Linked DNA regions of Homo sapiens: all the other regions are linked to region 3. Evidence: promoter capture Hi-C in 16 types of primary human blood cells and fetal thymus (Javierre and others, 2016). All regions are on one chromosome and are shown on one strand. Each heading gives the region's core, a stretch centred on a gene start or on the middle of the fragment in contact. The rest is flanking DNA. Distances are from core to core; before and after follow the strand shown.

Evidence for each region. The method cuts DNA at HindIII sites, captures the fragments that hold promoters and counts their contacts. A CHiCAGO score of 5 or more calls a contact.
Region 1: a fragment that was not itself captured here is called in contact with the fragment with the promoter of STAMBP in region 3 in 1 of 17 cell types (total B cells); the score reaches 5.4 in total B cells.
Region 2: a contact is called between a fragment that was not itself captured here and the fragment with the promoter of STAMBP in region 3, in 1 of 17 cell types (naive CD8 T cells). The highest score is 5.4, in naive CD8 T cells.
Region 4: a contact is called between a fragment that was not itself captured here and the fragment with the promoter of STAMBP in region 3, in 10 of 17 cell types (naive CD8 T cells, total B cells, non-activated CD4 T cells and 7 more). The highest score is 9.4, in naive CD8 T cells.
Region 5: a fragment that was not itself captured here is called in contact with the fragment with the promoter of STAMBP in region 3 in 12 of 17 cell types (non-activated CD4 T cells, total CD8 T cells, total B cells and 9 more); the score reaches 10.2 in non-activated CD4 T cells.
Region 6: a contact is called between a fragment that was not itself captured here and the fragment with the promoter of STAMBP in region 3, in 8 of 17 cell types (non-activated CD4 T cells, activated CD4 T cells, total CD4 T cells and 5 more). The highest score is 7.8, in non-activated CD4 T cells.
Region 7: a fragment that was not itself captured here is called in contact with the fragment with the promoter of STAMBP in region 3 in 1 of 17 cell types (fetal thymus); the score reaches 7.1 in fetal thymus.

What each region holds. Positions count from the first base shown.
Region 1 is chr2:74,347,258-74,350,197 of GRCh38, forward strand. It overlaps the pseudogene NECAP1P2. Among named protein-coding and RNA genes, the nearest start is that of SLC4A5, 5.3 kb to the left of the region's middle. The HindIII fragment of the contact is 7,558 bases long and covers 1-2,940 here.
Region 2 is chr2:74,432,922-74,435,621 of GRCh38, forward strand. The region is part of intron 1 of RTKN (rhotekin); the gene reads right to left. Among named protein-coding and RNA genes, the nearest start is that of RTKN, 7.7 kb to the right of the region's middle. The HindIII fragment of the contact is 2,783 bases long and covers 1-2,700 here.
Region 3 is chr2:73,827,608-73,830,722 of GRCh38, forward strand. It overlaps STAMBP (STAM binding protein), which reads left to right and starts at 1,354. Exons shown (of 10, transcript NM_213622.4): 1 at 1,354-1,903. LOC105374807 (a long non-coding RNA gene) reads right to left here and starts at 2,791. Exons shown (of 3, transcript XR_940246.3): 1 at 2,709-2,791; 2 at 1,150-1,297. RefSeq lists a silencer at 1,125-1,343 and an enhancer at 2,851-3,115. The HindIII fragment of the contact is 5,447 bases long and covers 493-3,115 here.
Region 4 is chr2:74,369,064-74,372,077 of GRCh38, forward strand. It overlaps DCTN1 (dynactin subunit 1), which reads right to left. Exons shown (of 32, transcript NM_004082.5): 8 at 2,474-2,665; 9 at 1,916-2,113; 10 at 1,558-1,762; 11 at 1,403-1,481; 12 at 1,123-1,282; 13 at 902-1,006; 14 at 237-428; 15 at 35-151. Among named protein-coding and RNA genes, the nearest start is that of DCTN1, 9.7 kb to the right of the region's middle. The HindIII fragment of the contact is 6,181 bases long and covers 1-3,014 here.
Region 5 is chr2:74,411,135-74,414,136 of GRCh38, forward strand. No RefSeq gene overlaps it. Among named protein-coding and RNA genes, the nearest start is that of C2orf81, 9.0 kb to the right of the region's middle. The HindIII fragment of the contact is 6,860 bases long and covers 1-3,002 here.
Region 6 is chr2:74,476,223-74,479,111 of GRCh38, forward strand. The region is part of intron 5 of CCDC142 (coiled-coil domain containing 142); the gene reads right to left. Among named protein-coding and RNA genes, the nearest start is that of MRPL53, 5.0 kb to the left of the region's middle. The HindIII fragment of the contact is 6,387 bases long and covers 1-2,889 here.
Region 7 is chr2:74,450,175-74,453,154 of GRCh38, forward strand. No RefSeq gene overlaps it. Among named protein-coding and RNA genes, the nearest start is that of INO80B-WBP1, 3.4 kb to the right of the region's middle. The HindIII fragment of the contact is 1,613 bases long and covers 472-2,084 here.

The DNA.
Region 1 (2,940 bases), core at 364-2,863, 520 kb after region 3:
TTCTGATTTCTGCTCCTTACTGGTCACAGACATTTCTGTGGCAAAGCTCATCATCAAACTTCTAATTGCCAAGTGGACAATTAGACAGTGGACACTTTTCAGATCTTTGCTTGATAGACCTCTCTATTACATCTGGTGTTATTGACAATTCTTTCCTCTTTTTTTTTTCCTGTTTGTTTTGCTTGGTATATTTTACAACTTGTGGGCCATTCAGTATGTGCATATTTATCTTTGTTAAATACGGCCACATTGTTTTCCAGAGTGGCTGTAGCACTTCACACACCTACTAGCAGTGTGTGTGTCTAACTGGATTATTTAAGGATAAGAGTTGGGAGATCTGGGATGCTCTGGTTTTCTGCCCCCAGGGATGTGCTCACTGTCCCCTTTGTGCTGTCACCCTACAGATCTCTCTCCTGTGAGCTTGAGTCCTGCTGCTGGCCTAAGTCAACCCCACCACTATCACTACCAACTGCCAACACAAACCAAGAGACAGCTTTAAAGACTAACCTTCCCAAAACCCTGTTTTTGCATTTTGTTCCCTGTTCCAGAATTGCCAGTAGCTTCCCAATGCAGTCAAATACAGTCTGAACTCCTTGGATTGGCACTAATGGTGTTCTCCTGCCTGGCTTTCTCATTCCTTGCCAGCCTTATTTCTCTCCCTGCTACACCCTCCTCCCCAAAGGGGCAGACTGGAATCCCGCCAAGGGGACCTATCCTGCTGATGAGGCTGTAAACCAGTACAGCCACTCTGCAAAAACAATGTGGCAATATTTAATAAAGATGAAAATACTCATAAGGAATGACGAAGCAATTTAACTCCTTACAGAAACTTTTGCATATGCGTGCCAAAGCACATGAACAAGGGAGGATATTTATATAGCATGGTTTGGAGGTACCTGAACTCGGAAGCAACCCAAATGTCCACTGGTAGTGGAATGGGTATGTTCTGGTCTCTTCACCCTTCTTCACTCCCCTTGCCTCCTCACTGAACTTACACAGCATGTTAATTTTTCAGATAACATGTCTTCATTTAAAACAGGAGCCCAACTACCTACTTTCCAAAATAGAGAGCATTTTTTTTCCACTGAAAAATGAATTTCCAATATCACTATGTTAATATGTATAAAAACTGGACAGGTGCAGTGGCTCACGCCTGTAATCCCAGCACTTTGGGAGGCCAAGGCGGGTGGATCACAAGGTCAGGAGTTCAAGATCAGTCTGGCCAACATAGTGAAACCCCATCTCTACTAAAAATACAAAAAATTAGCCGGGGGTGGTGGTTGTGAGCCTGTAACCCAGCTACTTGGGAGGCTGAGGCAGGAGAATCACCTGAACCTGGGAGGCGGAGGTTGCAGTGAGCCGAGATTGCGTCATTGCACTCCAGCCTAGGCGACAGTGCGAGATTCTGTCTCAAAAAAAAAAAAGTATAAAAATTTTGTAAAATGGTGTGGTCATGTTTTATCATTTGTTAATCTAAGTGTTTCTTTTTGCGTTTTTAAAAATTCACTTCTTAAAATGTGTGTTTACATTTTTTTAAATTTAAATATATATCTAGGTTTTCAGTTCTATGTTGTCAAATGCATAGTCTATCCTTTGCTTTTTGCTTTTTACAAAGGAATACCAAGATGAGTTACAAGTGATTTATCTCAGATTTTGTTCACTGAGGCTTAGAGTTTACTCCATGAGTTCATGAGGGTTCAGTTCCACCTATTGTTCCTTGCTCAATTGTTTGAGTAGGTCCTGATTACCTGCCAGATGGCCAGTCCTGGGCTGATCTTTTCTACAAAGATCAGAAGGGTCTCTTCTGGCAAGGCAAGCCTGGCTTGTACTCTCTGTGGAAACTTAACTAGCCATGGCTGCAGCTAGAGGGCCCAGCCAAGGATCTTTCCAAATCAAGTGTCTTTGGCTGTCAAATATGTAGGTAACTAAAACTCCAATCTCTGAGGGAGGACAGTCTGCCCTATCTGAATTCCCTTGTCTTCTAGAAAGGGTCAAATAGTAGTCTAAGCACTCAGGGAGAGTGAACACTTTTCTCCTTGTGTCTCTGTCAAGGGCAGGGAACACTAAACCATTAGTAATAACGTAGTCTTTAAAGTACATTAAATCAGCTAAGTTAACTGTTTAACCATAAGTTCAACACTCCTTTTTTTTTCTTTTTTGCATTCCATCTGTTATGCAAAAACCCCAATTTTTGATTGATATGAAATGAAAACATAGAAATAACAGGCATGCCATACCATCAAGAGACCAACCACTACCTCATCCAATATTTCACCCCTCTCCACTCCAATTGTTTTGATCTCTTTCAATGGGTGACTTCACAGAATTGAGATGCTAGGTCTCACCAAGATGGTGACTTTTATGGCCAGCTTCTCTGGGATGAGTAGGAATTACCATTTCCTACAATTCCCAGATGATGCTGATGCTGTTAGTCAGAAAATCACTGCTCTAAACCCAACTAATAATTTACAGAAAATGGAGAAGACAGAGGAACTTATTAACACCATGAGGATGCATTTTAAGAAAATCCAGATTCTGAGAAATAGTTCTTTCAACAAATAAATTATAAGGAAAAATCAAGCAAGAACGAACCTAGACTGCCTGTGAATGGCCACTGCATTCCAGCCTTGGCAACATAGCAAAGCCCTTCTCTGAAAGAGAGAAAGAGATGATGATGAGAAGGAGGAGGAGATGTTTCTAAGCAAGAGACTGGACTGGAGGCCTCAATTTACTCCCAACGTCATCTGGAGGTCACAAAGGGCAGAGAGCCAAGATGGCAGCCCAAGGCACGGTACAAGCCTATCTTAGCTGGTGTCAATGTCTACTAGATTCTGCCCCAGGCCTCCAACAATGGCTACAGGCTGGAATGTGGACCAGCCTGCTTAGTCTTCAAAAGGGAAGACTGCCTATGTCAACTCAAGTATAAAATATCAGGAGAGC
Region 2 (2,700 bases), core at 60-2,559, 610 kb after region 3:
GGCAACATAGTGAGACCCCACCTCTAAAAAAATATATAACAGCCGGGCACGGTGGCTCACGCCTGTAATCCCAGCACTTTGGGAGGCAGAGGCAGGCGGATCACAAGGCCAGGAGATCGAGACCATCCCGGCTAACACGGTGAAACCCCGTCTCTACTAAAAATACAAAAAATTAGCAGGGCGTGGTGGCGGGCGCCTGTAGTCCCAGCTACTTGGGAGGCTGAGGCAGGAGAATGGCATGAACCCGGGAGGCGGAGCTTGCAGTGAGCCGAGACTGCACCACTGCACCCCAGCCTGGACGACAGAGCAAGACTCTGGCTCAAAAAAAAAAAAAACATATATATATATATATAAAACAAATAAGAAAAATAGAGATGCCCTCATGCATTTGATGGTTGGAAGTATAAATTCCTTCAGCCTCTTTTGAGTGCAATTTGGAAAAAAATCTATGAAAACTACAAATTCATATATCCTTTAATTCAGCTATCCAATACCTAGCAGTTTATCTTACACATATAATTTCACATATATCTAGGTAAAGCCATACATACAAAAATATTCAGTGCGGCATTTTTTTTTTTTTTTGAGACGGAGTCTCGCTCTGTTGCCCAAGCTGGAGTGCAGTGGTACGATCTCAGTTCACTGCAAGCTCCACCTCCTGGGGTTCATGCCATTCTCCTGCCTCAGCCTCCCAAGTAGCTGGGACTACAGGCGCCCGCCACCACATCCGGCTAATTGTTTTTTTGTATTTTTAGTAGAGACGGGGTTTCACAGTGTTAACCGGGATGGTCTCGATCTCCTGACCTTGTGATCCGCCCACCTCGGCCTCCCAAAGTGCTGGGATTACAGGCGTGAGCCACCGCGCCCGGCCTCATTGTGGCATTGTTTTAAACACCAAAATTAAAACCCCTTCAGTAGGACATTGGTTAAATAAGTAACAGTACATCTGTACCCTGTAGTATTGCAGACATTAAGGAAAGAGATATGCACATGTATGCAGATATGAAACAATCTCCAAAATAAATGATGTGAGAAAAGAAGGGTAGTATTGCACATACTACCATTTGTGCATGATATATATATATGTATGCATGCATATATATACATAGATATAGATATGCATGTTTATGCATAAAATATTAGTGATTGTAGGCCTGGGAGCCAGGGATGGAAAACATTTATGATACTTTTTTTTTTTTGAGACCGAGTCTCACTCTGTCACCCAAGCTGGAGTACAGTGGCGCGATCTCAGCTCACTGCAACTTCCACCTTCCAGGTTCAAGTGATTCTTGTGCCTCAGCCTCCTGAGTAGCTGAGATTACAGGCATGTGCCACCACGCCCGAGTAAGTTTTGTATTCTTTTTTTTTTTTTTTTTTGAGACCGAGTCTTACTCTGTTGCCCAGGCTGGAGTGAAGTGGCATGATCTCGGCTCACTGCAAACTCCGCCTCCCAGGTTCAAGCAATTCTTCTGCCTAGCCTCCGGAGTAGCTGGGATTACAGGTGTGAGCCACCACACCCAGCTAATTTTTGTATTTTTAGTAGAGACGGGGTTGCACCATGTTGGCCAGGCTGGTCTCAAACTCCCGACCTCAGGTGATCCACCCGCCTTGGCCTCCCAAAGTGCTGGGATTGCAGGTGTGAGACACCATGCCTGGCCTAACTTTTGTATTCTTAGTAGAGACAGGGTTTCGCCATGTTGGCCAGACTAGTCTCGAACTCCTGGCCTCAAGTGATCCTCCCACCTCGGCCTCCCAAAGTGCGGGATTACAGGCTTGAGCCACTGCGCCCAGCCTAATGATACTTTATATATACCCTTTGTACTACTGGAAATTGTATTTCCTTTAAAAAATATTAGATCTTTGGAGTTTAAAAAAAAATGATCAGGCCCTACCTAAGATTTGCAGAATAAGAATCTCTAGGAGTGGGGCATATGTACTTTTGGAAAACTCCCCAAGTGATTCTGAGGTACACCCAGGTTGAGAACCACCAACTCATGGGAATGGACAGAAGGAAAGGCAAATGAGAGTTATCCCTCAGACTCAAGTGATGCCAGGGACATCTAGTTGGCAAGGGATCAGTGGACAAGGAGCATACCACCTACAGTGTTCACTGACGCTGCACAGAAACCTATACACCCCAAATTAAGAGAATCACCACCTACCGGCCCTCTGAGCTTGGGAGATGAGGTCAGAGGCAAGGAATGGGGATGGGAAGGTAGGTGGTCCAGGAATGAGGGACTGTGGATAAGGGCCAGCTGAGAGGCCCTGGAAGAGACACCAGGATTCTCAGGAACATTCATTTAGAAAGGAGCCCTGGAGGTCCTGCTTCTTAAAAAGCAATGGGCAATTTGCTCAACCTCCCTAAGCCTCAGTTTCCCCATCTGTAAATCAGGAATGGAAATAGTCCTAGGGCTGTGAGAATTCTGTGAGGCAGGAACTTAAAGCACTTAGCACAGTGCCCAGCATGTGGTATACATTAATGGCAGGGATGCTTATTTTAATGACGCTATACTTTGGTGGTAGCAGCATTTACTCAGTCAACACTGGAGCATCCCTGTACTGTCCAAGGTTGTACATTTAAAATCCAGCTGGGAGGTGAGAGATGATGACTTTAATGGCTGCTCCATAAGTGCCATGTCATGGCACAACCATGCTCACAAGAAACAGCCTCTGTTTGCTTCTGGCTGAGGTGATCAAGGA
Region 3 (3,115 bases), core at 104-2,603:
CATCAATTTCTTTAGGCCCAACCCATCATGTTTACATTCTGAAGAGAGTCAGTAGAGAGAGTTTTGAAGACACAGTAGAGTGCCCTATACAATTATCTTCCCAGATTTATCTGCAGTAGATCCATGAGAGTTGATAGTAGACCCATGCACATTAATGCTTGCTGGGGGCAGAAGGGGAGGTGATATGATGCAAGCAAGTACTTTCAACCCTAAGTCTGAAAAGTTGATGACTACACAAAATCACTTCAGGTAACTCCAACAGAAATATACACAACGGAGGTTGGGAGAAATGAGAGATCTGGAGGCTGGCTAGGTGGAGGAGGCAACACCTGAATTAGGGATTTAAGCTAGACCTTGAAGAATAGGTCATGCCATCACACTAACAAACTCACAGGGAGGCTCCCAAATTTTGGGAAAGTGTCCCCCAGAGACTTAGACTTTTAAACCAAAGCCTAATGTTTCACAAAGTCTTCTGAGACAGAATGATTAGCAAGCTTGTAGGACCTTTTTGTAAAGAGGATGTATATGGATTCGTACAGACACACATCTACATGCAGAACGTGCCATTCTGTATTTGATGCATAAAACCACCTTGTCCCGGTCTCAGGGCAGGAACAGTGTCATACAGATTTTTGTGTCTCCACTGCTTTTGCATAGCGGCTCTTAGAGATTAAACGCTTTTTTTCCAAATATTTTATAGGTTTTTTGACATTAAAACGTTAGTCTCATCTGGGTGCGGTGGCACACGCCAGTAATCCCAGTACTTTGGGAGGCAGAGGCAAGAAGATCGCTTGAGCCCTGAAGTTGGAGACCACAGTGAGCTATGATCACACCACTGCACTCCTGTGACAGCCTGGGTGACACCGCAAGACCCTGTCTTAAAAAAAAAAAAAGTTAGACTTATGTTCTTTTCTAAGCAATAAAATTAGTCTTAGATATTGCCTAATATCTAAGACTACCAATTTTTGTGTAGAATGTAATACAAGCTAAAAAATACATTCGAAAGACTTTCTGTCCCCCAATTTATAAATCCTGGTTAGTTTAGCTAAGTCTGCAGTTGTGCTGGGATCAGCAATCCCTCCTTAAATGCAGGAGTATTGTGAGTGTGATGAGGGACTACCCCAAATCAAAATAATTTTAAAAGCAAACCTTAGCTTGCTAATTGGTTCCACTTTCTTCCTTGTTCCTTTTCCTTTACCAAGATGGCCGCTGTGTCGTTCGCTCCTCATTGGTCGGATTTTCCGCAGGTGCCGATTCTAGCCCCACCTACTAGCTCTCCGTTCCAAGTCCTAAATCACTGGGAATGTAATAGACAGACGAACGGGAGTGGGCGGAGCGGGCGCCGGATGTGACGTTTCCGGAACCTCCGGGTGTCATCCGCGGGGAAAGGTGGGGAAGGGTCCCGGGAACGTGGTGGGGCAGGGCCTCCGAGCGTGGTTGGACTTTGAAGGGGATCGGCCGCCGTGAGTGTGGGGCCTGCAGCCTACTCTCCCCGAGTCCCCTGCCCGGCCTGCCTCGCTCGAGGCACCCGACGGCTTCTGTCTCCGCGGGCTGGCGCCTGACCAGCCAGGCCCAGCGGTTCCCCGCCTACTGCATTTGAAAGATCCCGAAAACCCTGGATGATTGTGCCTGGGGTTGGCAAGTTCGTCTTGAGTGCCTTCAAGAAGGGTTCCTCAAGCAGTTGTCGATAGAGCCCTCCCTACTGTATACGCCCCCTCCGCTCATTCCTGCTACTTCCTTTCTCCTCCTCGTATTTCCCCCTCGGTCCTTTACGCCGCCTTTCCCCCTCATTTGCAGATGCTGCATCCCCTTTTTGGAATTGCTCAACCAGGTGGTAACCGGCGCCGCTTCCTGGCCTTGGGAGGTGGTTCCTTTCTTAACCCACAAGAACCTCTCCCAAGAGGTACTGAGATGCAACAAGCATCCTCTGTTTCAGTTAACTTTCATGGGCCGTGGACTAGGTTTACTAATTACTTGGGGAGGTTTTAGATATGCTTGCGGCTTTCTGAGTCCCTAAGGAGGCCTCGTGAGAGATGGACTATCTCTGCATCCCTAGTAGTCCTCACGGCTTTTGTGCTATTAGTGAGGGTGTTTTAGAGGGGAAGGTTTGTGGAGGAATTGTGACCCGAATATTGAAGAGACCTAAAGATGGAATTGGCTGAGAGAAGACTACCCCTGAGGGAAGAGTTGTAGTAGAAAAGAAAAACTGGATAGATAAATGAAACTGAAATGTGAGGATGCCTGGGCGGATTGGAATCCTGACTGAAGCAAAAGATCTCTGTTGGGGAGGGCCAGTTGCCACAGGGCCTTGAATTCCAAGATTTATTCTACTGTAGTTTGTGTATTCTAGAGCATACTGATTAGGGTTTGCTGTAATGCAATGTGTGTCAAATGCCCAGTTTTATTTTGGAGATGATAGTGGTGATATCTGGTTGGAATTTGGAATCTGATTCTAACAGCAACTATATCTAGAAAGACTAGAATTACTGGAGTTTTGGGACACCAGGGGTTTTTGCAATGCAAGTTACCATCGTGCCTTTTTGTTATTCAGTGTTTAGTCTATGAAGATGAGTAAATGGTTGTTTTCAAGATTTAAGTCTCTTGCCATGATAATGATGAATGAATGATTTTATAGATTGACTATAGTGGTTTAGTGAGCAGAGTTACAATTATGAGCATTAATTCCCAGACCAGTTCCCCTAACTCACCTTGTGCTCAAATATGAAAAAGGATACCACAGAAAATGTCAGTTACTCTCAGATTAAGTAAAAATGGTCAACCTTGAAGTTAGTTAACAATCCTCAAGAAAGTTCACTGAGTGCACTCTGCCAGGTACTGGGGTGGAGGTATGTGGGTATCTGGAAGGAGAAATAATAGAAAATAAAAGATGCTGTTCCCACTTTTACAGTGCTGTGGGCGGAGCCCCCTAATGGCAAAGGATTTGATTAACTTGAACTGAACCTTTGGTTGGTCCACTGTGGTTCTACTCCTTATACCACCTAATTATGGTACAGGGGTTGTATGTTTTCTAGTCTGCCAGTACTCTCATCGTTGTGATTTGGGCTTCCTTGAGGGTCTCAGCCTTCTTGTAGGAAAGTCCTTATTTAATAGGAGC
Region 4 (3,014 bases), core at 429-2,928, 540 kb after region 3:
GCAGGGCTCCCTCAGACCCACACACTTTCCTGACCTTGGCATGGGCCTTAGTCTCAGCAAACTTGATTTTGAAGTCAAAGGTCTCTGGAGGTGGCTGCTGTTGCCTCTCCACAGATGCTTCCTGCTGGTTTGTCAGTTCCCGATTCACATCCTAGGAGGAGAGACAGTGAAGCACAGCTGGGTCATAAGGAAGCCCTGGGGTGATGGTGGGCAGAGAGCAAACAGTGGGCATGTACCTGTAGATGGGCGGTCAGCTGGCGGTACTTCTTGATGGTCTGCTGGTAGTCTGCAACCGTCTCCTGGGCTGCCTCCACACGCTTCTGGGCCTCACGAACCCGCGCGCCTGCCATGTCCAGCTGCTCCCGCAGCTCCAGTTCTGTCTCACGTGCATTCTCCTGCAGCTCATCGTTCATCTCATTCATCGCTTCCTAGGACACCACACCATAGTTTGGGCTAAAGAAAGGCAGGGTCGGCCAGCGGCGGTGGTTCACACCTGTAATCCCAGCACTTTGGGAGGTCAAAGCAGGCGGATCATGAGGTCGAGATCGAGATCATGCTGGCCAACATGGTGAAACCCCATCTCTACTAAAAATACAAAAATTAGCTGGGTATGGTGGCGCATGCCTGTAGTACCAGCTACTCGGGAGGCTGAGGCAGGAGAATCGCTTGAACCTGGGAGGCGGAGGTTGCAGTGAGCCGAGATTATTGCGCCACTGCGCTCCAGCCTGGCAACAGAGCGAGATTCCATCTCAGAAAAAAAAAAAAAAAAAAAAGGCAGGGTCAGGGTAGCAAGCCCAGGCTGGGTCCCTCACCGCACACCCTGCTCAAAGGCCAAGGGTCACATGTCAATCTTTTTCTCAGCAGGTCCAAGTCAGATGTCAGGGGTCTGCTCTTCTCTTACCAAGTCTCCCACAGTCTCCCTCAACTCGCGCACTTTCTCTTCCAGATTCAGGTTCCGATCTGTCAGCATCTCCACCATCTCCTCAGCACCCAGAGCAGCATCCACCTGTGTTACGGGGAGGATAGGGAGAAGGGCTGCTGGAAGGTACCTAGAAAGAGGAGGCATCAACTGATAGGAGAGTCAGGTGGGGGATTCTGGGTGAGGGGCTGGGCTCCCCAGACCTGCTCCTTGAGCTCATCAATGGTGCTCTCTGCCTGGCTTAGCTCCTCCTGCAGACGCTCCCGCTGTTGCCTCACAACTTCCAGCTCTTGGTTCTTCTTTTCCATGAGCTTCTGGAGCTTCACATGCTCCTGCTTCTCTGAGGAAGAAAGATCCCGCATCCTGCAGGGATGTGAGGAAGGCAGAAGGAGGAAAGCACGTGTCAGAGTCTCTGGCGATGGGTGCTCTAACACATTTGGAGACACAAGAGTAAGCATCAGAGGCAAGCACTGAAGACCCTACCTCACCAGGGCATCCTTCAGGCGGGCATTCTGCTCCTCAAGCTGCTTGAGCTGATAACTGGATGCAGCGCCATCTGAGCCTGGAGAAGATCATTAACACTTTCAGGCATGGTTCTCACCTGACCGTTTGGCCCCCAGCAGCTGTGGGCCCCTTACCCTTCTCTTCAATCTCAGCCTTGAGGATCTCTAAGTCAGTAGTGAGCTCGTCCACCCGCTCCTTCAGTGCCTCCACCTCCTGCTGCAGGGACTCAGCCCGCTCTTCAGCCATCTCCTTGTCCAAAGTGGCCATCTCAATGGCATCAGCAGTATCAGCCATCTCCTCCATATAGCGTTCCTTTGCCTCCAGCGCCTCCTTGGCTTCCTGAGGAAGAAGTGGAGGTGGGAGGGGGTACCAGCACAGAGATGCCCCAGGCCTTTCTCACAGTATGTTCCAGGCTCCAGCTCCAGTCTAGTTTCCAGCATGCTTCCTTAGGTCTCAGGCTGCCCCAGCCACCCCCTTCATCCAGAGTCAAACCTTTCTCGCCTCCTTGAGGCGCCGCTGCAGGTCGGCCTGCTGCTCCTGCATTTTGCTCTTCCATTCCTGCACCTGCTCCAGCTGGATTTTGTGTTTCTCCAGCTCTTTTAGCTTTGCTTTGTCTTCTGCCCGTTTCAGTCTCAGGGTCTCTAGTTTCTCCTCCAGGTCCCGCACCTGAGCCCTTAGTCCCTCCTCCTCCTGCAAAGGAGAGGCCTCACGGTCTGTGCACAGCCCACTCCTCCTCTCCACCAACACTGAGCTGGCGCAAAGAACACAAGAAAGTGTGCAAACATCACCCAGCCCCAGGGTGGCCAACAGTCAGTGGCATAAGAACATCTGAGAGGAAACCGTAGCACAGTATATATGGGGAAAGTATGGCATAAGGGCAAGAAAGGAAAGGATGGCTCAGTCAGTAGCAAGATATCCATAGGCTATGTCCTCACCCTTTCTGATCCAAGTTCTAGGTCTTTGCCAACCCCAGGAAATTTTCAAGACACAGCGGGTAGCCACAAGCCTCTGGGTGTCTTGATTCTCCTTTACCCCTACCCCAGGCCTTACCTTGGATGGGGAAGGAAGCGGGGGGACTGCTCCAGGAGAGGTGAGGACCGGCGTGGGGATGATGGGTGCTGCCAGCGGAGTCTGAGCCGGGGTGCTGGGCTCACTGCTGCTCAGCTCACCTGCTGACGCTGAGCCAGAGGGGCCCAGGGAGCTACTGGCCCCAGCCACCCCAGTACTGGCTGGGCGCGTGGGCTATTCAGAAAGGGTAGAGGCAGACCAGAAAGAAAGCAGAGGATAGGGGTAGTAAGAGGAACAGAAACAGAATATGAGAATATGGCAAGGGAAGGAGACAGAAAAGGGAAAAAGCAGAAAGAGAGTATCAAAGCACAGTGAGAAAAGAAGAATGAAGGGGACAAGGAAAATGATACAGAGAGGCAGAGAGAGATAGTGACAAAGGACAGGGGGAGGATGGAGGCAGAGGAGAGAGGGAGGAAAAGATAAGAGAAAGACATAAGATTATAAGGCTCCTCGCTTGGCACTGACTCCACATTCCTCCTAGCTCTGGCACTACCCTTAAGAGCAGAATCCGTTATTCCCTAGA
Region 5 (3,002 bases), core at 503-3,002, 580 kb after region 3:
AGGAACCGTATGTGCAAAAACACAGCCAGAGGGTGAAAAAAAACAGACCGTGGTCCAAGAGCTGCAGATTGTCTGGCTGGAGACTAGGAGGTGGGTTAAGGAAGGGCAAAAGGCAAGGCTCTTAGTCAGCAGAGGGTTTTTTTTTTTTTTTTGAGACAGAGTTTCACTCTTGTTGCCCAGGCTGGAGTGCAATGGCGCGGTCTTGGCTCACTGAAACCTCCACCTCTCGGGTTCAAGCAATTCTCCTGCCTCAGCCTCCCGAGTAGCTAGGATTACAGGCATGCACCACCACGCCCAGCTAATTTTGTATTTTTAGTAGAGACGGGGTTTCTCCATGTTGATCAGGCCGGTCTCAAACTCCCAACCTCAGGTGATTTGCCCACCTCAGCCTCTCAAAGTGCTGGGATTACAGGCATGAGCTACTGCACCCAGCCTAGCACACAGCCTTCTAAGTGTAGAGAAGGGGCTTAGAGTTCATCCTACAAAGGAGAGGTTACCTTCAAAGGATTTTAAGCAAGAAAGTGTCATGATGAAAGGTGATTACTCGATGTGGCAGTGGGGAGAATAGATTAGAGAAGATGAGACAGGAAAGAAGTTTAAGAAACTGTCACTAAGCAAGATGCAGATAGTGTCGTGACATGTTACAATTTGTGGAAAGGGACAAAAACAATCATACTTGCAGGTGCATAGAGTTTTGCCTTTGTTCACTTTCCAATTGGGATTAATTTAGTTGACTGCTAAAGGATACGTGAGACTCCGGCAACAGTAGTTGCCTCTCAGGAGGGGAACAGGTGGCTTATGTACCAGAAGAGAAAAATAGTTTAAAAAAAAAAACCCTCTGTATCCTTTTGTACACTTTCAATTTTGTACTTTGGATATGTATTACCTGACCAAAAGAAAAATTGCTTTTCTTTTAAGGAGGCTATCACATTGCAAGGGGATGAGTAATTAAAAAATAATAATAATAATAAAGGGGCTATTATACAATCTAGGAGAAAATGTCAGAGAGAATGTTCCTGCCACCCACTCCCCGAAACTTTCCCTGGAGGAGCCAAACTTTCTCAATCAGAAAGGGCCTCTTCAAAGGACTTAGGCCCAAGGCAGTAATGTATCAACTGTATCATCTGTATGGCCTACACCTCTGGCCGACCCTGAGAACAGAAACTGAGTCTTCTTGCTTTCTCTGTTTCTGGTGCCTAGTGTCCCCCTCAAGAAGCCTTCATTGCAAAAACTACTCTACTGGTCTGGCTAGAACTAGGGGATGGGAGAAGGAGGTCTGGGATCTCATATCCCCTTGCTGATTATATTTTGGGCTGAATGATTCTTCTATCAGCCTTCTAATACTGACTTGTGCCAGCTGGGCTTCCCTGATGTGTGACACAAAAAGTGTGTTGGGTCACCACTCAGCAAACAGCTGGGTGCCAAGAGGCAAGAGGTGGTCCTGGGAGACAGTTACTAGAATGCCAGGGGTATAGGGAAGAGGGCAGCACAGAAGGTGCCCATCCTTCCTTACCTTGGAGTAGATTTGTGAGCAGAAAGGGCCCAACATAGTTAGTGACAAAGGTGAGATCCAGGCCCCCTGGGGTAAGTGTCTTCGGAATCCTGGGAGGAAATGAAAACACTGGCATTGAGTGATAAAGGGACCACCTTGAGGGAGACAAGGTCTGGGAGGGACATATTACCTTCAGCAGAAATGCCACAGGGGCACATACATGTGAAGATGGGGGCAATGAAGTTTAAGGCTATAACTCAATGTCAGCTTTTTAGGGGAGGGTATGGATTAGTGTTTTGGCAAGATTGCATAGACTAGGCTTTGAGGATACCTGTTTTAGAGTTCCTGAGCTAGAAAGGAGACTGCAGAAACATGTTTGGAGAAGCAAGCCAGGCACATACCACTGACTCCAGCATTGTTTACCAGCAGATGTATCTCAGGATTCTCCTGTAGAAGCCTCCGGGCAAAGCTCCGAATAGAGGTCATGGAGCTAAGGTCCACCTCGCCAAGCAGGAGGCGGTTGCTGTTTGAGGCTGCTTGGATCTCAGCCAGGGCTTGCTGTCCACATTCCCTGCTCTGACAAGTAAGGATCACTTGGGCCCCACACCGAGCTAGGTCCTGGGATACAACCTTCCCGATGCCTGTGGGAGGACAACTTCGGCTGGGTGGTGACTACAGTGAACAAGGGACACTCTAGGGGAGGGACAAGGGTGTTGATAGTGGATGCTCCTCCCTGCCTTCCCTGTGAGAGTTGTTGGAGGCTGAGGCCCATAGTGAGGATTCAGGGTGGGAGGAGCACTCACCACTGTTGGCCCCAGTCACTATGGCTATTTTCCCAGTCAGATCTGTGGAGCAGCACTGGAGGTCCCAGGGATGAGACTTCTGCCAGAGCTGCACATGTAGTTGAAGAAGACCAGAATAAGGAAGACAGAGCCAGCGCCCCAGACCAGGATGCTGAGTGCAGCCCACAGCAACATAGCAGAAACTTCCTGGGCCTGCTGGGGAAATGCTGTAGGAGGAAGTGGGTGCAGGATAAATCTGGGCAGAGTGGAGACTAGCAATGAGGCAGGTGTGGAGCCTAAGATAAAATTTAAGGAGGCACTGACTCTTGAGTTTGTTCAATATACTGTTTGAGTTTGAGAGTTCCTCCTTAACTTCAAAAGTGAAATTTGGATTTGCAGTCTAAGGTGAAGTGACCAAGCTCCAGGGACCAGGGAAGCAAGAAATCAAGTTCTTCATATCTCGAATCACTCTGTGCTTATGCGGGGCCTTCTCCTTCCTCCCCTACTGAAAGGAGACTCGAAGTTCTCTCTACAGAGCCAGACCCGCTGGCAGCCCTTATGTCTACTCCTTTGGGGGACAGGGGTTTCTCTAGAATGCCTCTGCAATGGGGCAGCTTTGGCCCTAATGCAGGGTCTCCTAAGGGTGGCGAGAGGGTTATTTCCTGAACCCTGGTTCTATCTTCTTCTAGGCCTGCAGGATAACTGCTCCCCTTGGGGTTCAGTGAGAG
Region 6 (2,889 bases), core at 165-2,664, 650 kb after region 3:
AGTGCAGTGGCGTGATCTCGGCTCACTGCAACCTCTGCCTCCCGGGTTCAAGTGATTCTCCTGCCTCAGGCTCCCAAGTAGGTGGGACTACAGGAGTGCACCACCACACCCAGCTAATTTTTGTATTTTTAGTAAAGACAAGGTTTTGCCATGTTGGTCAGGCTGGTCTCAAACTCCTGATCTCAGGTGATCGGCCTGCCTCTGCCTGCCAAAGTGCTGGGATTACAGATGTGAGCCACTAAGCCACTACACCCAGCCTACAATGATCTTTTGGTTATCACCTACAAAAGGAAGACAAGAACTGTATGTAAACCAGAAGCAATGACTATTTGAATGTTCTGAGACTCAGGAAGTTTTGGAATGTCCTTACATTGAAAGGCATTATTATATATTATTATTCTTCACAGCCCACTCCAGAGCAATATAACCCATAAAGCAAGAAAAGGCCTATATGCTGGGTTTGTTTCTTTGGTTTGATAGGTTGTTTTTGGAGGGAGAGAACACAGCAATAAAGCTGGTTTCTGCTCTACAGCCCATCTTGAGGGAGAGGAACCCCAGTAAATGTGGTTAATGGCAGCTGCTCTGTAAAGAAATGGTAGATGCCAGGGAGCCTGAAGACAGGATAGACCTGGGGGCGGCCAGACATGGAGTGGAGCCCATATGGCTCCTGGCACATCTGACAACCTGTCTAAATCCAAAATCTTCCTCTCTTCTCCAGTAAATGCAAGCCCCCTTCTCCTCCCTTATTTATGTCAAGGAAATTGCCCTTTTGTCAACGGACTTTTGTTAGGAGCCTCTGTACTCAACACTGAGGGAATACAAGGTGCAGAGTGTGTGACAGTCTCTCCCCCACCCACTGGGATCTTATAGTCCAAACAGGAAGAAAACTCACAATGCCTCTTTTTTTTTTTTTGAGACCAAGTTTCGCTCTTATTGCCCAGGCTGGAGTGCAGTTGCGCAATCTCAGATCACTGCAACCTCTGCCTCCTGGGTTCAACCGATTCTCATGCCTCAGCCTCTGAGCAGCTGGGATTACAGGCACCCGTCACCATGCCTGGCTAATTTTTGTATTTTTAGTAGAGATGGGGTTTTACCATGTTGGCCAGGCTGGTCACAAACTCCTGACCTCAAGTTATCCACCCATCTCGGCCTCCCGAAATGCTGGGATTACACCCTTCTGCTCTTAAAATGTCACCCCCTCACTTATGAGGTAAAGCGCAAATTGTTGGGGCTGGTGTTCATGCCCTCCACAATTTGATGCCAAATTGCTTACTACCCTACCCCACACCCAACCCCAGTGAACATACCCACAAAAGGAACCTCTGCTCTGGTAAGGCCACCTCTCTGCTACCCCCACAAGGATCTACAAACTGCCCACTTCCAGTAACCCCAGCCACTCCTCTGAGGCTTCCCAGCCACCATCTCCAGCCATAGGCCATGTATGGAGCGTTCTTTAACCACATGCCCACTATAGCCTTCCTTCCTCAGGGCTCTATGACCGTCACTGTGTGCAGTACTCATGATGAGCCTGCTCTGGGGCATGTTGAGTTTAAGTAGACAGCAGTAAACTGAGGTAGAAATGCCCAACAGGCAAATGCAGATGTTTAACTAGAACTCTGGGAGCCAGGCTGGGTGTGGAGGCTCATGCCTGTAATCCCAGAACTTTGGGAGGCCAAGGCGGTGGATTGCTTGAGCTCAAGAGTTCAAGAACAGGGCACATGTTCTCAGATCTCCTGAGGGCTATGTCACGAGCCAAACTTCTAATTAAAAAAAAAATATATATATATATAAATAGATATAATATAAATAAAATATATATAGATATAATATAAATAAAATATATATATATACTTTTTTTTTTTTGAGTCTCACTCTGTTGCCCAGGCTGGAATGCAATGGCACGCTCTCGACTCACTGGAACCTCCGCCTCCCGGATTCAAGTGATTCTCCTGCCTCAGCCTCCCGAGTAGCTGGGATTACAGGTGTACACCACAATGTCCAGCTAATTTTTGTATTTTTAGAAGAGACAGGGTTTCACCATGTTGGCCAGGCCGGTCTTGATCTCCTAACCTCAGATGATCCACCTGCCTCGGTTTCCCAAAGTGCTGGGATTACAGGTGTGAGCCACTGCACCTGGACAAAAAATTTTTTTGTTTTCTGTTTTTTTTTTGAGACAGAATTTTTGTTCTTGTTGCCCAGGCTGGAGTGCAATGGCGCTATCTCGGCTCACTGCAACTTCCGCCTCCTAGGTTCAAGCGATTCTCCTGCCTCAGCCTCAGAAGTAGCTAGGATTACAGGCACCTGCCACCATACCGGCTACTTTTTTGTATTTTTAGTAGAGACGGGGTTTCACCACGTTGGGCAGGCTGGTCTTGAACTCCTGACCTCAGGCGATCCACCCACCTTGGCCTCCCAAAAAAGTTTTTTAAAAAGATTTTTAAAAAGGGTTCAAGACCAGCCTGGGCAACATGGCAAAACCTTGTCTCTACAAAAAAAAAAATTTTTTTAAGTAGCTGGGCATTGGCCGGGTGTGGTGGCTCACACCTATAATCCCAGCACTTTGGGAGGCTGAGGTGGGTGGATCACCTGAGGTCAAGGGTTCCAGACCAGCCTGGCCAACATGGTGAAACCCATCTCTACTAAAAATACAAAAACTAGCTGGGCGTGGTGGCAGGCGCCTGTAATCCCAGCCACTCAGGAGGCTGAGGCAGGAGAATCACTTGAACCTGAGAGGTGGAGGTTGCAGTGAGTAGAGATCACGCCACTGCACTCCAGCCTGGGTGACAGAGTGAGACACCTTCTCAAAAAAAAAAAAAAAAAAAGTAGCTGGGCATTGTGGCTTCCACCTGTGGTTCCAGCTACTCAGGAGGCTGAGGTGGGAGGATTGCT
Region 7 (2,980 bases), core at 28-2,527, 620 kb after region 3:
TTGCGGTGAGCGGAGATTGCACCATTGCACTCCAGCCTGGGCAACAAGAGCAAAACTACGTCTCAAAAAAAAAAAAAAAAAAAACGAGGCCAGGCGCGGTGGCTCATGCCTGTGATCTCAGCGCTTTGGGAGGCTGAGGCAGGTGGATCACAAGGTCAGGAGTTCAAGACCAGCCTGGCCAACACGGTGAAACCTCATCTGTACTAAAAATACAAAAATTAGCTAGGGGTGGTAGTAGGAGCCTGTAATTCCAGCTACTTAGGAGACTGAGGCAGAGAATTGCTTGATCCCAGGAGGTGGAGGTTGCAGTGAGCCGAGATTGTGCCACTGCACTCCAGCCTGGGCAACAGAGCAAGGCTCCGTGTCAAAAAAAAGAAAAGAAAAAGGAGGTATTTCACAGTTGGTGAAATTTGAATGGGGTCTGGATTAATGATGTATCAGGTTAATTTCCTGATTGGGACAGTTGCACAAAGCTTATAGAAAACTGTGCTTGTTTGAGGGAAGTACACACTGCATGATTTAGGGGTGAAATGACATCATGTCTGCAACTTGCTATCATGTTGATCAGAAAAAGAATAATGATGTAAACCAAAAATAAAATTCTGAGTCCCCCAACCATGTTGGGCCATTCCATGTTAACCTGAAAAACTAGTATGGGCCATGATGGGAAAGGGGGAGCTGGACATGCCTTGTTATACCCTCCTCCCTTTTGCAATTACTGATATAACAGACTCTTTAAGTCTGATAAGAAACATTTACAGTGTATTCTCTGTGAAGTTGGCTACCTGGATGCTTCACTTGAATGATAAAATCTTGGTCTCCACAACCCCTTATCTCAACCAGACATTCCTTTCTATTGATTCCAAGTCTCTAGACAATAATTTAACGCTTTTTTTTTCTTTTTTTGAGATGGAGTTTTGCTCTTTTTGCCCAGGCTGGAGTCCAATGGCTCGATGTCAGCTCACGGCAAACTCTGCCTCCTGGGTTCAAGCAATTCTCTTGTCTCAGCCTCTCTAGTAGCTGGGGTTACAGGTATGTGCCACCATGTCCAGCTAATTTTTGTATTTTTAGTTGAGATGGGGTTTCACCATGTTGGCCAGGCTGGTCTCAAACTCCTGGCCTCAGGTGATCCACCCGCCTCGGCCTCCCAAAGTGCTGGGATTAGAGGTGTGAGCCACCACAGCCAGCCAATAATTTAACTCTTTCAACCAATTGCCAATCAGAAAACCTTTGCATCTACACAATACCTGGAAGCCCCCATCTTCCAGTTGTCCTGCCTTTCCAGACCAAACCAACGTACATCTTACATGTATTGATTGATGTCTTATGTCTCCCTAAAATGTATAAAATCAAGTTGTAGTCAGACCACTTTGGGCACATGTTCTCAGGATCTCTTGAGGGGTGTGTCACAGGCCATTGGTCACTCATATTTGGCTCTGAATAAATCTCTTCAAATATTTTAGAGTTTGACTCTTTTCACTGACAATGATAATGGGCATAAACACAGATAAATATTAACAATTTCAGAATCTCGCCGGGCGCGGTGGCTCACACCTGTAATCCCAGCACTTTGGGAGGCTGAGGCGGGCATATCACAAGGTCAGGAGATCAAGACCATCTGGGGTAACACAGTGAAACCTTGTCTCTACTAAAAATACAAAAAATTAGCCAGGCGTGGTAGAGGGCGCCTGTAGTCCCAGCTACTCGGGAGGCTGAGGCAAGAGAATGGCGTGAACCTGGGAGGCAGAGCTTGCAGTGAGCCGAGATCGCACCACGACACTCCAGCCTGGGTGACAGAGCGAGACTCCGTCTCAAAAAAAAAAAAAAAAAAAATTTCAGAATCTGCCCCACCCGCCAACCATGTCGGGCATTCCATGTTAACCTGAAACACATGGAATGTTTAAGGAGATAAGAAAGTTTTGGCCCGGCACTGTGACTCACACCTGTAATCCCAGCACTTTGGGAGGCTGAGGCAGAAGGATCGTTTGAGCTCAGGAGTTTGAGACCAGCCTGGGCAACATGGCCAAACCTTGTCCCTACAAAAAAAAAAAAAAAAAAAAAAAAAAAAAAAAAAGAATTAGCTAAGCTTGGTGGTGTGTAGCTGTAGTCCCAGCTACTTGGGAGGCTGAGGTGGGAGGATCACTCAAGCCTGGGAGTTTGAGGCTGCAGTGAGCCGTGTTTGCGCCACTGCATTCCAGCCTGGGAGACAGAGCTAGACCCTGTCTCAAAAACAAAACGAAACAAAAACTTTATTAGAGAGAGTTCTTTGTATTCATCTTGCAATTTTTCTGTTTGAAGTTATTTCAAAATAATTTTTTAAAATACGACTAAGAAGTCTTTCAGAAAGAAGAGTGCCTCTCAGCCTACAAACATGCTCAAATCTCTCTCACTCTAAACAAAGCAAAACTAAAAACAAACAAAATAATGAAGCCAGTTGTCACTTACTGTTGCCACTTCCTCCCTGCTGGGCATCATGATGCAGAGGAAACACCACTGGGCCAGGTGTCAGGAAGCCTCTGTTTGAGTCTGGCTCTGCCACTCCCTAACTTTGTGACTTTGGCAAAAACATTTCTTTTTCTGAGCCTCAGTTTCCTCATTTATAAGATGGAAACAATGGTATCTCCCTTATGGAGATGCTGTGGGGGCCAAGGGAGAGAAGGAATATATAGGCAGGTTATAAACTCTAACGTATTCTACAAATATGAATTGCAAGTGATCCCTCACTGTAACTCCTGGTGATAAAAGAGTATTGCCTTCACACTGTGATAAAATCCATCCTCTTCTTGGAGCTCAGCCTACCCTCTGAAGGACTGTACCCAGCTGATCACAGCCTTAGTCCCTTGATACTTTCTGCCTTTCCTGACCTTCTCAACCCTGTCTGGCCCCTCTGCCTGGCTGTGCAGGACAGGTGCTCACTTGGTTCTGTTCCTGGTTCTTTTCCTCTTATCTACTTACTCTTTCTGGGTGTCTCATCTACTCC